3 separate regions of the Homo sapiens genome follow, and all the other regions are linked to region 3. Evidence: promoter capture Hi-C in 16 types of primary human blood cells and fetal thymus (Javierre and others, 2016). All regions are on one chromosome and are shown on one strand. Each heading gives the region's core, a stretch centred on a gene start or on the middle of the fragment in contact. The rest is flanking DNA. Distances are from core to core; before and after follow the strand shown. Region 1 has its middle 53 kb from the start of EEIG2. Region 2 overlaps GPSM2 (G protein signaling modulator 2). Region 3 holds the start of HENMT1 (HEN methyltransferase 1).

Evidence for each region. The method cuts DNA at HindIII sites, captures the fragments that hold promoters and counts their contacts. A CHiCAGO score of 5 or more calls a contact.
Region 1: a contact is called between a fragment that was not itself captured here and the fragment with the promoter of HENMT1 in region 3, in 5 of 17 cell types (non-activated CD4 T cells, activated CD4 T cells, total CD8 T cells and 2 more). The highest score is 6.9, in non-activated CD4 T cells.
Region 2: a contact is called between a fragment that was not itself captured here and the fragment with the promoter of HENMT1 in region 3, in 2 of 17 cell types (total CD8 T cells and naive CD4 T cells). The highest score is 6.6, in total CD8 T cells.

The regions. Positions count from the first base shown.
Region 1 is chr1:108,504,672-108,509,006 of GRCh38, forward strand. It overlaps the pseudogene RPL7L1P21. Among named protein-coding and RNA genes, the nearest start is that of EEIG2, 53 kb to the right of the region's middle. RefSeq lists a silencer at 1-57. The HindIII fragment of the contact is 8,656 bases long and covers 1-4,335 here.
Region 2 is chr1:108,898,636-108,902,531 of GRCh38, forward strand. It overlaps GPSM2 (G protein signaling modulator 2), which reads left to right. Exons shown (of 15, transcript NM_013296.5): 6 at 7-130; 7 at 244-359; 8 at 3,155-3,310. Among named protein-coding and RNA genes, the nearest start is that of GPSM2, 24 kb to the left of the region's middle. The HindIII fragment of the contact is 5,386 bases long and covers 1-3,896 here.
Region 3 is chr1:108,659,692-108,663,476 of GRCh38, forward strand. It overlaps HENMT1 (HEN methyltransferase 1), which reads right to left and starts at 1,402. Exons shown (of 8, transcript NM_001102592.2): 1 at 1,272-1,402; 2 at 173-271. The coding sequence starts at 193. RefSeq lists enhancers at 1,121-1,710, 1,711-2,299 and a silencer at 1,366-1,535. The HindIII fragment of the contact is 2,630 bases long and covers 1-2,466 here.

The DNA.
Region 1 (4,335 bases), core at 733-3,232, 150 kb before region 3:
CAATACATGAGGCAGCTACAGCCTCCTAGACGCTCAGACCAAGAACTTTGACAGTATCCTTAACTATTCACTTTCTTTAACACCCTACACATGATCCAGAAGTAAATCTTGTCAGTATTTCAAAATCTACCTGGCATCTACTCACTTCTCACCCTCATCCATCCTGGTGCAAGCCATCCTAAAATCTTGTCTGTTATTATTGCAGCACTGTCTTAATTGGTCTCTCTGTTTTCACCCTTGCCGTTATAAACTATTCGCAGTACACCAGCCAGAATGAGATGGTTAAAACTTAAGTTAGATCATGTCACACCTCTGTTTAAAACCACCCAATGACTTAACTGAGTAAAAACCAAAGTTCTTACAATTTCCTGGAAGCCTTATGTGATCTGGCCTCCTATTACCTCTAGATTTCATCTCCTACCACGCTCTCCCTCATTCACTCTATTCTGCACACACTGGCCTCCTCTCAATGCCCTAACCCTGTCAGAGACACTACCTACTTCACCCTTTGCTGTTGCTATTTCCTTTGCCTGGAAAGCTCTTCCCCCAAAGATCATCATAGCTCCCTCTCTTACTTCCTCCTTATCTCTACTCAAATGTCACTTTCAAGAATTCCCTACTCACCACAGTTAAATTGCATTTCCCCAACACACACACACACACACACACACACACACACACACACACACGAGTCTCCCTCCTCTGCTTCATTTCCCCTTAGCACTTTTCATTATCTAACATAGCTTAATTATTTATCTAGTTTATTGTTTTTCTCCTCTTGTTTATGGTGAGCTCTATGAGAGCAAGGATTTTGGCCTATTTCCTTCACTACTGCATCCTTAGCACCTAGATGAATGACAGGCATATCACAGACACTCAATAAATATTTGTTAGTAAATAAATAAATCCACTTTTCATCACCACCTCTTGTGCTCTACACTCAGAGGTTGAAATATTGAGTCTTATTCAAGGACTCCCTGTCTTGAGTTGTTGGAACCCTTTTCTCCCAATCAGTCATCTCCTGTCTCTATAACAGATCCAACATGTCCTTCTCTGGTGACTACTTCTCAGATCTCTCCTATCCACCAAAAGATAATAAAAATAAAATTTAAAAAGACTTGTCCTCTCCTTCTCATTTAAATTTCTCTTAAACCACATCCCCACATTAACCATTTCTCTTAAACCACAGTCCCCACATCCTCACCCTCACCCACTCAACAGCCTTATGCAACCTGACTTAACCCTTTACCACACTACTCAAACTCCTTTCACTGACATCCCCGGAAATCTCCCAAACGCCAGATCCAATGGATATTTTTCAATAATGTTATTGCTGCTCTTTTCTGCTGAAAAAAGGAAGGATCTAAAAAATGAAGACACATAAAATGTTCAAGAAATAGAGGATGAAACATCATAAATACATCAATTCTCCCCAATATTAAGCTATTAATTCAATAAATTGCAATCAAAATTCCAAAAATGATATATATATATATGTGCATGTGTATGCACATGTATATAACAAAACAATCTGATTCTAAAATTCATATAGAAGAGGAAAGGGTCAAAAATAGCATTGACACTATTGGAGATGAATGTAAGTCCAGATGTCGAGATGTATTATACAGTGATAGTAATTAAGACATGCGGTATTGATACACAGTAGACAACAACTAATATAACAGGAAAAGGAAACCAGAAACACACCCATACACAGATGGAAATTTAATATATGACTAGAGGTAAGCATTTCAAATCTGTAGGAAAAGGATGGGACTAACCAATAAATGGTGATAGGACAATTGACTATACAGAAAAAAAAAGAAATTGAATCCCTATTTCACACCATACACAAACATCAATTACAGGTGAATTAAAGAACTAAATATGAAATATCTAAATATTTAAATAAGATATTGATGAATATCTTCATGCCCCAGGGTAAGGAAGAATTTCTCAATATGTCAAAAGCACAACCATAAAAGAAAAAGAGACAAATATAACTGCATTAAAATTTAAAATGTCTGCACAACAAAAAAACACCAAAAATTTGTTTTAAATAAGCAACAAGCTGGGAAAAGATATTCATATTGCATAATGCCAACATAGGATTAATATCCAGAATTTAGAAAGAACACCTACAAGCCATTAAGAAAAAGACAACCAATCTCGCTGAAAAATTGACAAAAGGAATAAACAGGTAATTCACAAAAAAAATCCAAATGACCAGCAAATATATGAAGAGATAGTTTTACTAGTAATAAGGAATATAATTAATTACATTTAGTTACATTAAAAATAATGAGATAATATTTCTGACCCATAGGTTTGGAAAATATTAAAATATTAGAATACTACGGTATCAAGTGTTGGAATGGAAATACATTTCTGGTAGGAATCTAAGGTGGTACAACTACTTTGGAGAGCAATTTGGAATATTTAATTAAAGTTAAATATCTGTAAAGCCTATGACCAAACAATTCCACCGCAAGTAATACACAAGGAGATGCACACAAGAATATCCATTGCAGCTTTATATTATATTAGCAACAAAAGAAATTTTTAACCTAAATAACCACCATCAGAATTCATAAGTAAACTGAGTTATATTTATTAAATGGAACCATACAGTGGTTAAAATAATTGAACTAGAGCTATATGCATTGACATAAATAAATCTCCAAAAATTGAAGGATTAGAAAATAGTCATAAAAAAATCCTGTATGTCACCATTTAAAGGCTTAAGACATAAGAAACAATATCCTATATTTTAACAGTATATGTATAGTAAAATGTATGCAAATATAAAAGTCTATATGAGAATAATAAGTTCAGAATAGTAGTTACTTCTGGCAGGAATGGAGGAAATGGGTTTAGAGAATAATACATTGAAAATGTTTGCTGCCTGTAATTTTGTTTTTAAAAATCTGAATCAAATATGTAAAATGTTAAATATGACAAACACAGTGGTAGGTATGGTTTTTGGTTATATTATTCTCTTTATTGTTCTGTATAAAATAGTTCATAATAAGTTAGCCTTATTTCAGGAATGTTTAACATGACAAAATCTATTACTATAATTCATTATATAAATAGGTCAAATGACACATTATACAGTTTAATAAAATTCAGCACTCTCCTGATAAGATACTTTTCTTTGTTGTTCTTCTATATGTTCCTGTCATAATCCTTGCCACATTGCAACTGTCTGTTCACTGTTAGCACATGTGCGTGTACACACACACACACACACACACACACACACAGTGGACTGTCAGCTCTGTAAGGACAGGCACAAGGGCCAGGCTACCACTGCATCCTCGTTAGCTAGTACATGCCCAGCAAAAAGGATCAAACTTGATAAATATAAAATGACATAATCTTATAAAAAGCAATAAATCTATACACTAAAATGATACCAGGTTAACATTTGGGTGATTGGATTATGGTGACATTGGGGAAGTTACTTAACCTCACTTCTCAACAATTTCCTCTTCTGTGAAAAATAATAGACTTGGTCTCTAAAGTCTTGTGAGGATTAAATGAGATAATGTATGTAATGTTCTTAGAAGAGTGCTAGCAGACAGATGTTCAATAATGAAAAGCCATTATTCATATTTTTCTAACATTTCCATAGTTATCACTTTTATCATTAAAAAGGGTTTAGAGCTAATAAAATTAATAATAATAAAAATTAAGTTTAATATATACATACATATATGAGAGCTGACCTTTCAAGAATCTTCTCTGCCTCTTTTTTAGGAATATTTATACCTGTTAACTTGAGAGCATCGATAAATTTCTGAAGTATCCATCACTCCTTTAAAGGAATAAAGAAAATAAGGATCAACTGGAAAGTTTGAAAAGATACACAAGCAAATATTATTTAGTGCATTATTGTCCTCAGAGCCACTCAGGCAAAGAATGCACTTTTAGCAAAAAAAAAAAAAAAAAGAAAAGGGAGAAATGGCCTCAGGTGTAAGCAACTGGAATCGTTCCTACATGATTTCCGGTGGCAGAAACACAACAAGGTGCCTCTCAGATGACTAGAAGTGAAATCTCATGCCTTGGAATTGCCAGATAAACATTCCTTGGCCTTTGTTGTACACATCCTAAAAATTAATAGCATGAGTTTACTGGTGCAGAGAACCACTGCAAGAAGAAAATGGTTCACCTAAAGAAAATTTTTAGTAGTGTCTTTGTAAAAGCCACCCCCAGAGCCTAAAACTGCTGTACATATTGGAATCTTATATGACCTGGGGATTTCTAAATCTGAAGCCCATCTGGGAACTCATCTTGAAACACGGACAAGCCAAGGTCAAGAATAAGACCATC
Region 2 (3,896 bases), core at 1,346-3,845, 240 kb after region 3:
CCTTAGGGAAAACCTATCATTAGTGACTGCTTTGGGTGACCGAGCGGCACAAGGACGTGCCTTTGGAAATCTTGGAAACACACATTACCTCCTTGGCAACTTCAGGGATGCAGTTATAGCTCATGAGCAGGTACAGTGGAAAGCCTTGGAGCCAGATCATTTCCTCCATCAAAGTTCTGAACAGTGATTAGATCATTCTTCAGTTTTATTTTATCTACATCTAATTAAAATTGTTTGTTTCAGCGTCTCCTTATTGCAAAAGAATTTGGAGATAAAGCAGCTGAAAGAAGAGCATATAGCAACCTTGGAAATGCATATATATTTCTTGGTGAATTTGAAACTGCCTCGGAATACTACAAGTTAGTCTAATATTTCTGTAGATAAATGTAAAATGAATACTCAGTCCCATTAATTCATAGGCTTTAGGTTTAAAATCTGATTGTAGCAGAACTTTTGGCATCTAAGCCTCAATTTCCTTATCTGTAACAGAATATATCAATACTTCATTTTGGGGAATGCTGTGAGGATTGAATGAAATAATATACTAAACACAGTATCTGGTACACAGTGCTCAATAAATATTATTGTACATAAGATTTAATAGCAGCAGTATGACCCCTTTATAATATTGGTTTTTATCTTTAAAAGTAATTGTTTTTAAATGAAGTTTTCAACCTTTAATATCTTTTAAACCTGTTTAGCATATGTGGTGTATATTGTGTATATGCTTTATTTCACTCAGTTATGGGTTAGAAGAGAGGCCAAAAGAAAGCCTTGTAACAAAAATATTTATAGTCTATACCAGTGATCACTGAATTTTTTTCTCTACCTTCCCACCCTCTTATTGAGCAGTTCTCCCTTTACCCTCTTTCTGCCTATATTTGACTGTCACTGTAAGCTGAGTCCCCCATTCACTTACCTGAAGCATTTACAATCCCAGCTTCTTCTGTGGCAGGATCTCTCTTATCAGTAGATTTGAGACATAGATGATAGAAAGTTTAGACAGCTTCAAGTTGCCTGATCTGTGCTTTCTAGATTGAGTTTTCCCTAGTTAGTGGGGATTGAAGCCTCTTACAGATTTTGGGTAGAAGGCAGTTTGACTAAACCGAAGACACAGTGATTGATTTGTATTTTGTTAAAGAAGCCAATATGAGACAGTTCTGGATAATTTGTCATCTTCATAAAAAAGGTAAAATTGTTTTAGGCCTATCTAAAAAAATTAAATAGCATTCCACTTTGCTTTAAACATCAACTAATGGTTAATATTTGTTGGTTAGGTTAGTTAGATATGAAATAGCCTCCCAAATAAAATATATCACTGTGTACTATGTGAAGGAGTATATATTTTGATTTTAAATATAAAAATTTCCTATATTTAAAGCCAAGGGATATAGAGAAGTCTTAATTATTAAATGGTGTATCTGTGTTAAATACTGAAAGGTTCTATTATAAAATGGATAGTGGCTATTTGACTAAAGAAGCATGAATATAAAGTAATGAAACTTAGTTTTTTTCCTCCCAATAAGCAGGCTAGAACTCAGAACTTTATATATATTCCAAGTCGTTGGTTAGAAATATTTTTAGAACTCTTCTTTAGATTTTTTTTTTTTTTTTTTTTTTAAATACGGAGTTTTGCTCTTGTCGCCCAGGCTGGAGTGCAATGGCACAATCTTGGTGCACTGCAACCTCGGCCTCCCCGGTTCAAGCGATTCTCCTGCCTCAGCTTCTGAGCAGCTGGGATTACAGGTGTCTGCCACCACGCCCAGCTAATTTTTGTATTTTTAGTAGAGACGGGGTTTCGCCATGTTGGCCAGGCTAGTCTGGGACTCCTGACCTCAAGTGATCCGCCCACCTCAGCCTCCCAAAGTGCTGGGATTACAGGCGTGAACCACCACACCCAGCCTGGAATTGTTATCAGGGCCAAACAAGAAGGCTAACAATGTAGATCCATATCCTTCCGGATACAAAGCAGTAGTTTGGTAAACCTATGTTAGTAATTGAATTTGGTTCCAGAAAGATTTCTGATCATTTACAAATCAACTGTACCATCAAAGAATAATGGTATGCCAGAAAGCATTATGCCACAGGATCTGAAAGCAATTCCAAAAGTCTTTCAAAAATATTTGAAAAGACAGGCAACATTAGAATAAGTAGGTAGCCTCCCAAGGTGACAGATTTGAAGGTATCATCATTAAATATGTAACTTTAGATTTGTTTGCTTAAAAAAAGCTATCACGTTACCGCATAGTAATTTGTCATATAGTTATAAGTGATATGAAGTAATTATACTATTTGACAGAAATAATGGGAGGGTCATTTAAATTACTGAATCCAAAAGCATCTATAGGTTTAAGCACTGATAATAACACATTAACATTTATACAGCAACTACTATGCACAAGATGCTATTCTAAGCACTTTATACATATTAATTTAATCCTCACAAAAATCCTTCGAGATATTTCCCCCATTTTATATAAGAAGAGACTGGTATACAGAGAGATTGAGTGACTTTGCCCTTAGCTTAGTAATTGGCAAAGTTGGGATTTAAACCCAGTCTAGCTCCAAGATCTATGCTCTTAACTGCTACGCTAGCTTCTCACTGGCAATACCACAGGTAGAATTTGGGTAATGTTTGGATGTAGTATTCAGTATTTTTCATGAGTTGGTGACTAATGCCCGATACATAAGAATTTTACCTAAGTGGTGACTAATAGCCTACACATAAGAATTTTACCTAAATATTTTAAATTTTGACAATGCAAAGGTGACGGTATGATTGAAAACAGATGTCATGTGGAAAAAAGCCTCTTTTAGCTATTGCCAATACTAAAGGGAAAGTTTTTTTAAATGTTAAAGATATTATGTTAATCTCTAGAACCTCTTGATTTTATGTTTCAATACTCCTTTACTTTGATGAATTGTTAGGATTCTCAAATTTATTCTAAAAGTCTTGAATCTTCTTTCTGTGTTTCAAAAACGTCTTTTCATTTTGTCTAAAAGTAATGGAGAAAGTACGGGATATGAATATTAGGCTCTCAGAGATTTAAAGACAGCAGAAAGCAGCAGAGAGGAAAAATGAGAGTTTTGTTTTGTGATTCTTAAAGCCCAAACTGAGAATGATCATTATATAAGAATTAATTTCTTCTTGTAGGAAGACACTACTGTTGGCCCGACAGCTTAAAGACCGAGCTGTAGAAGCACAGTCTTGTTACAGTCTTGGAAATACATATACTTTACTTCAAGACTATGAAAAGGCCATTGATTATCATCTGAAGCACTTAGCAATTGCTCAAGAGCTGAATGATAGGTATGTTTTACGTCTTTTTACCATAACTAAGGTAAAATATAGATGCATTATTGAATCCCTAGAATTTTTCCTTTGTTTCTTTTCCTTTGTTTTCCTTAAAATCCCTTTTAAGGAATTTTCTTTCAGTGATATCCTCTGTATATCATTGTATGAAGGGCTAGTCTGTGATAGAGGATTAGTCTGGTTCCATATGCCCTTGACCCAAGATCAATGACTAGGTCCCAAACTCAATTACCTCTTCAGAAGTCTTCCTGGTGAAACCCCGTATCTACTAAAAATACAAAAATTAGCCGGGTGTGGTGGCGCACGCTTGTAATCCCAGCTACTCAGGAGGCTGAGGCAGGAGAATCGCTTGAACCCAGGAGGTGGAGGTTGCAGTGAGCTGAGATCACGCCACTGCGCTCCAGCCTGGCGACAGAGCAAGACTGCATCTCAAAAAAAAAAAAAAAAAAGTTTTCCTAACTACATAAGTGTGGGAATTGTGGTGAACTTAGAGATAATGTCCAGTGTGAAGGGGGCAACTGCTACCCAACTCCAACTAATTGTTGCCAGCCAGGAATGAAAATCCGTTATGTCCACATCTTCC
Region 3 (3,785 bases), core at 152-2,651:
TTACATACACCAAATGTGACTCTTTCATCTATGTATACCCTTGTTTACCTCAACCAACACCCCGGGAAATGCTAGGACCTAAATGTGATCAATTTTGTTTGCAATTATCTCACAATACATCCAGGTGATAATTCTTAAGAGTCAAAGACGCAGCTAAGAAGGGTGGCATTACCTGTAGATTATTTTCTTCCATTTTGTTTCGAAGTTTTGTTGAAACAAAAATGAAGATTTATCCTTCAAGCTCTATTTGAGAGAATCAGCACTGACTCAGCTGTAATAAATACAAAACCGTTTTTGTAAAGCGATACCTGAAAGAAATAGCTGCCTAGTTCAGAAGGGAAGAACGAAAGCCTCTTTCTTACTCCTTACTACAGTATATAATTTAAATAGAACGCTTAAAAGTAAATAATGAATTCACCTCTGAGTACTCAAAAAAAAAAAAAAAAACACGAAAGCAGGACTCGAACAGATATTTATACACCGAAGTTCATAGCATTATTCACAATAGCCAATCTGTGGATTAAATGTGGACTACCATTTAATCCACAGAATGTATCCAGTATTTTTTCAGACATTCGCAAACAGGCTCAGAAAGCGTAACTTTTCACTACGTCAAACCCTACTAAGAGCGAAAACAGCCATCCTTTCCCTTTACTATCATGAATAGTTCAACTAGATACAAACGGAGCAATCTTAGGAGTTCTGCCCATTTCATTGCTAAGACCCTCAACTTCAAATTTTTTCAAAAATTTTTCCACACATCGTCAAAATGAAATTTCGAGGGGGAAAAAAAGTGTCCTTGATAAACTAGAGATGCTCCAACATCTATTCAATTCACTCACGAACTTGAATTTAAATTTTAGTTCTCTATTGCACATGTGTCTCCAACAACTAGACTTTAATCTGGAATCTAGGCAACATGTTAGTCACCAACTTGTATTAAGAAACCCTGGCCGGGCGCGGTGGCTCACGCCTGTAATCCCAGCACTTTGGGAGGCCGAGGCGGGCGGATCACGAGGTCAGGAGATCGAGACCATCCCGGCTAAAACGGTGAAACCCCGTCTCTACTAAAAATACAAAAAATTAGCCGGGCGTAGTGGCGGGCGCCTGTAGTCCCAGCTACTTGGGAGGCTGAGGCAGGAGAATGGCATGAACCCGGGAGGCGGAGCTTGCAGTGAGCCGAGATCCCGCCACTGCACTCCAGCCTGGGCGACAGAGCGAGACTCCGTCTCAAAAAAAAAAAAAGAAAAAGAAAAAGAAACCCTGCTCACTGAAACCAACGCTTCTGTCTTTGTACGGGCCGTCGCTTCCATCATCCTGCGGTAAGCAGCATGCCCAACCGAAAAAACAAAGCTCGTCGCGGAGCCGCCAGCGTCCTCAACTCAGCGCCGCCCTGACGCCCGCGCACGCACGGCCTCGCTGCGTGACGCTACCGCCGCGGCTACGCCGGCGCCCGCACCCGCGCCTCGGCCTCCCCGCGGGGCTCGCCAACCTCGTGCGCTCTCACGGTCGGCCTTGGGCCCCGGGAGCCTCATGGTGCGCCGAGCTCCGTCCCTCTAGGCTCTCAGTTCCAAGGCGTCGGTTTTGCGTCTCGTAACGGCCGCTGTGGCGCATGCCCAGAAGCCATTTTCAAGGTCCTCTTCCGAACCTTGGCGAGGACCCCTGCGCCTGCCGCGCCGTTGACCCCGCTAGCGTGCGGCTGCGACGCGGCACGGTACGGCAGCTGTTGGCGAAGGCCCCCAACTCCGAGCGCGTCCGCAGACCGCGAGCCGGAAGGCGGCTTGGGCGGCTGTTGAGTTCGTGGCGCTCCCGAGGCGTGGCAAAGGCCTAAAAACGGTCCTGGCCAGCGGAAGGCGGCAAGAGGAGCAGCAAGGCTCCACGCGAGGCGGCCGGCGGCTGGAGTCCCAGTCAGCCTCCGCTTTCATCCCAGAGCAGTCCACGGGGGCCTTAAAGGAATGTAGGCTGGGTGAAGTTGGCCCAGTGACACCTGCGTTCAGAAAAACGTTCTTTCCGCTCCCAACGCCCCCTCTCCACCGCCACCCGACCCCCGAAATAGTTTTCCCCGAGTGTTGTGGATAGAACTGTTGATCTCTTGGAAAAGTTATTGTATCCTGCCATCCTTCCCTCTGGAGACTCCACTTAATATATATAAGTACTTTCTTTCCTGTATATGATGGAAGAGTATTAGGGGGGTGAGGGGAGGGACGAAGCTGCCTTCTTTAGGGAAAAAAGATTGACTTATATTTTGAAAGATGCAAAAGCTGGTGTTTTTGCTACTGAATTAATAGCCTATTAATATGCCACAAATGATATATTGGAACTGTATTTTCAAACATTTAACGCCTGCTGTATGCAAAGCACTATGCTGACAGCTTAAGGGTACCACAATGATAAATTACACCAATCTTGTTTTTGGCATTTTGGGGAGTCTAGTGTCATAGGTAAAGAAGTACATAACTAACAATAAGCTTCAAAAATTCAATCATAAGGCCCGGCACCGTGGCTTCCGCCTGTAATCCCAGCACTTTGGGGGATCACTTGAGCCCCGGAGTGTGAGACCCCGTCTCTACCAAAAAAAAAAAGAAATTAGCTGGGCATGGTGGTGCCTGCCTGTGGTCCCAACTGTTTGGGAGGCTGAGGCCGGAGGATCACTTGACCCCAGGAATCTGAGCCTGCAGTGAGCTATGATTGCACCACTGCACTCCAGTCTGGGCGACAGAACCAGACCATGTCTAAAAAGAAAAAACACTCAGTGATAATTTCACATTACAGTTTGAGAGGTTCCTGTTGACTTGGGGAAACTAGTTTTAGCAGACTTCATTAAAGGAGTGTACACCTTACTACAGGATGTAATTTAAAATAGAATGTTTAAATAATAAATTCACTTCTGGGTATATACTCAAAGCAGGAATTCAAACAGGTATTTGTACACCAAAGTTCGTAACAGCATTATTCACAGTAGCCAAAATGTGGAAACAACCCAAATGTCCATTAAAGGATGAATAAACAAAATGTGATATACATACAATGGAATATTCAGCCTTTATTTTTCCAATCAGAGTTTCAGGAAAATCAACCTTTAAAAGGAGTGAAATTCTGACATTTGCTGCCACATGGATGAATCTTGATGATGATATGCTGAGTGATATATAATCAGTCACGGAAGGACAAATACTGCATGATTCAATTTATATCAGGTACCTAGAGTAGCCAAATTCATAGAGACAAAGTAGAATGGTGGTTGCTACGGGCTGAGAGGAGGAGGGAATTGAGAGTTGTTTAATGGGTGATGGAAAAGTTTTGTAGATAGGATGGTTGCACTGAATGCCACTGAACTTAAAAATTGTTAAAGTGGTTTTATGTATATTTACCACAGTTTCAAAAATTTTAAGGAAAACATAAAAGCTATCATCTATACAGCATTCCTGGATCTAGGGTTTTTGCCTCCCCTGCTGGTTAGCCCATTTATGAACTTGAGCTCCTCATGTCCATTCCCTCTCCAAATTTGCCTATTTCATCATTCTCCTGGCCTCCTACTCTTATTAGAGTCTGAAAAATCATCCTTGGCTCTGTCCATTTTTGTCCTTCCCACACTTGGACAATCACCAAATTTTGACTTCTTCAAGCTGTCATCTACCATCTGTTCCTTCCCACAGCTAATAGCTTAGCCTTGTCATCTCATTTTGTCATTATAACTCATCTTTCCTTCGTACACAAGGTAAGTCCTACTGAGTTATAGACCATGTAACGTCTTTTAGAGTGGATTTTAAGTCAAATAGGCCTTA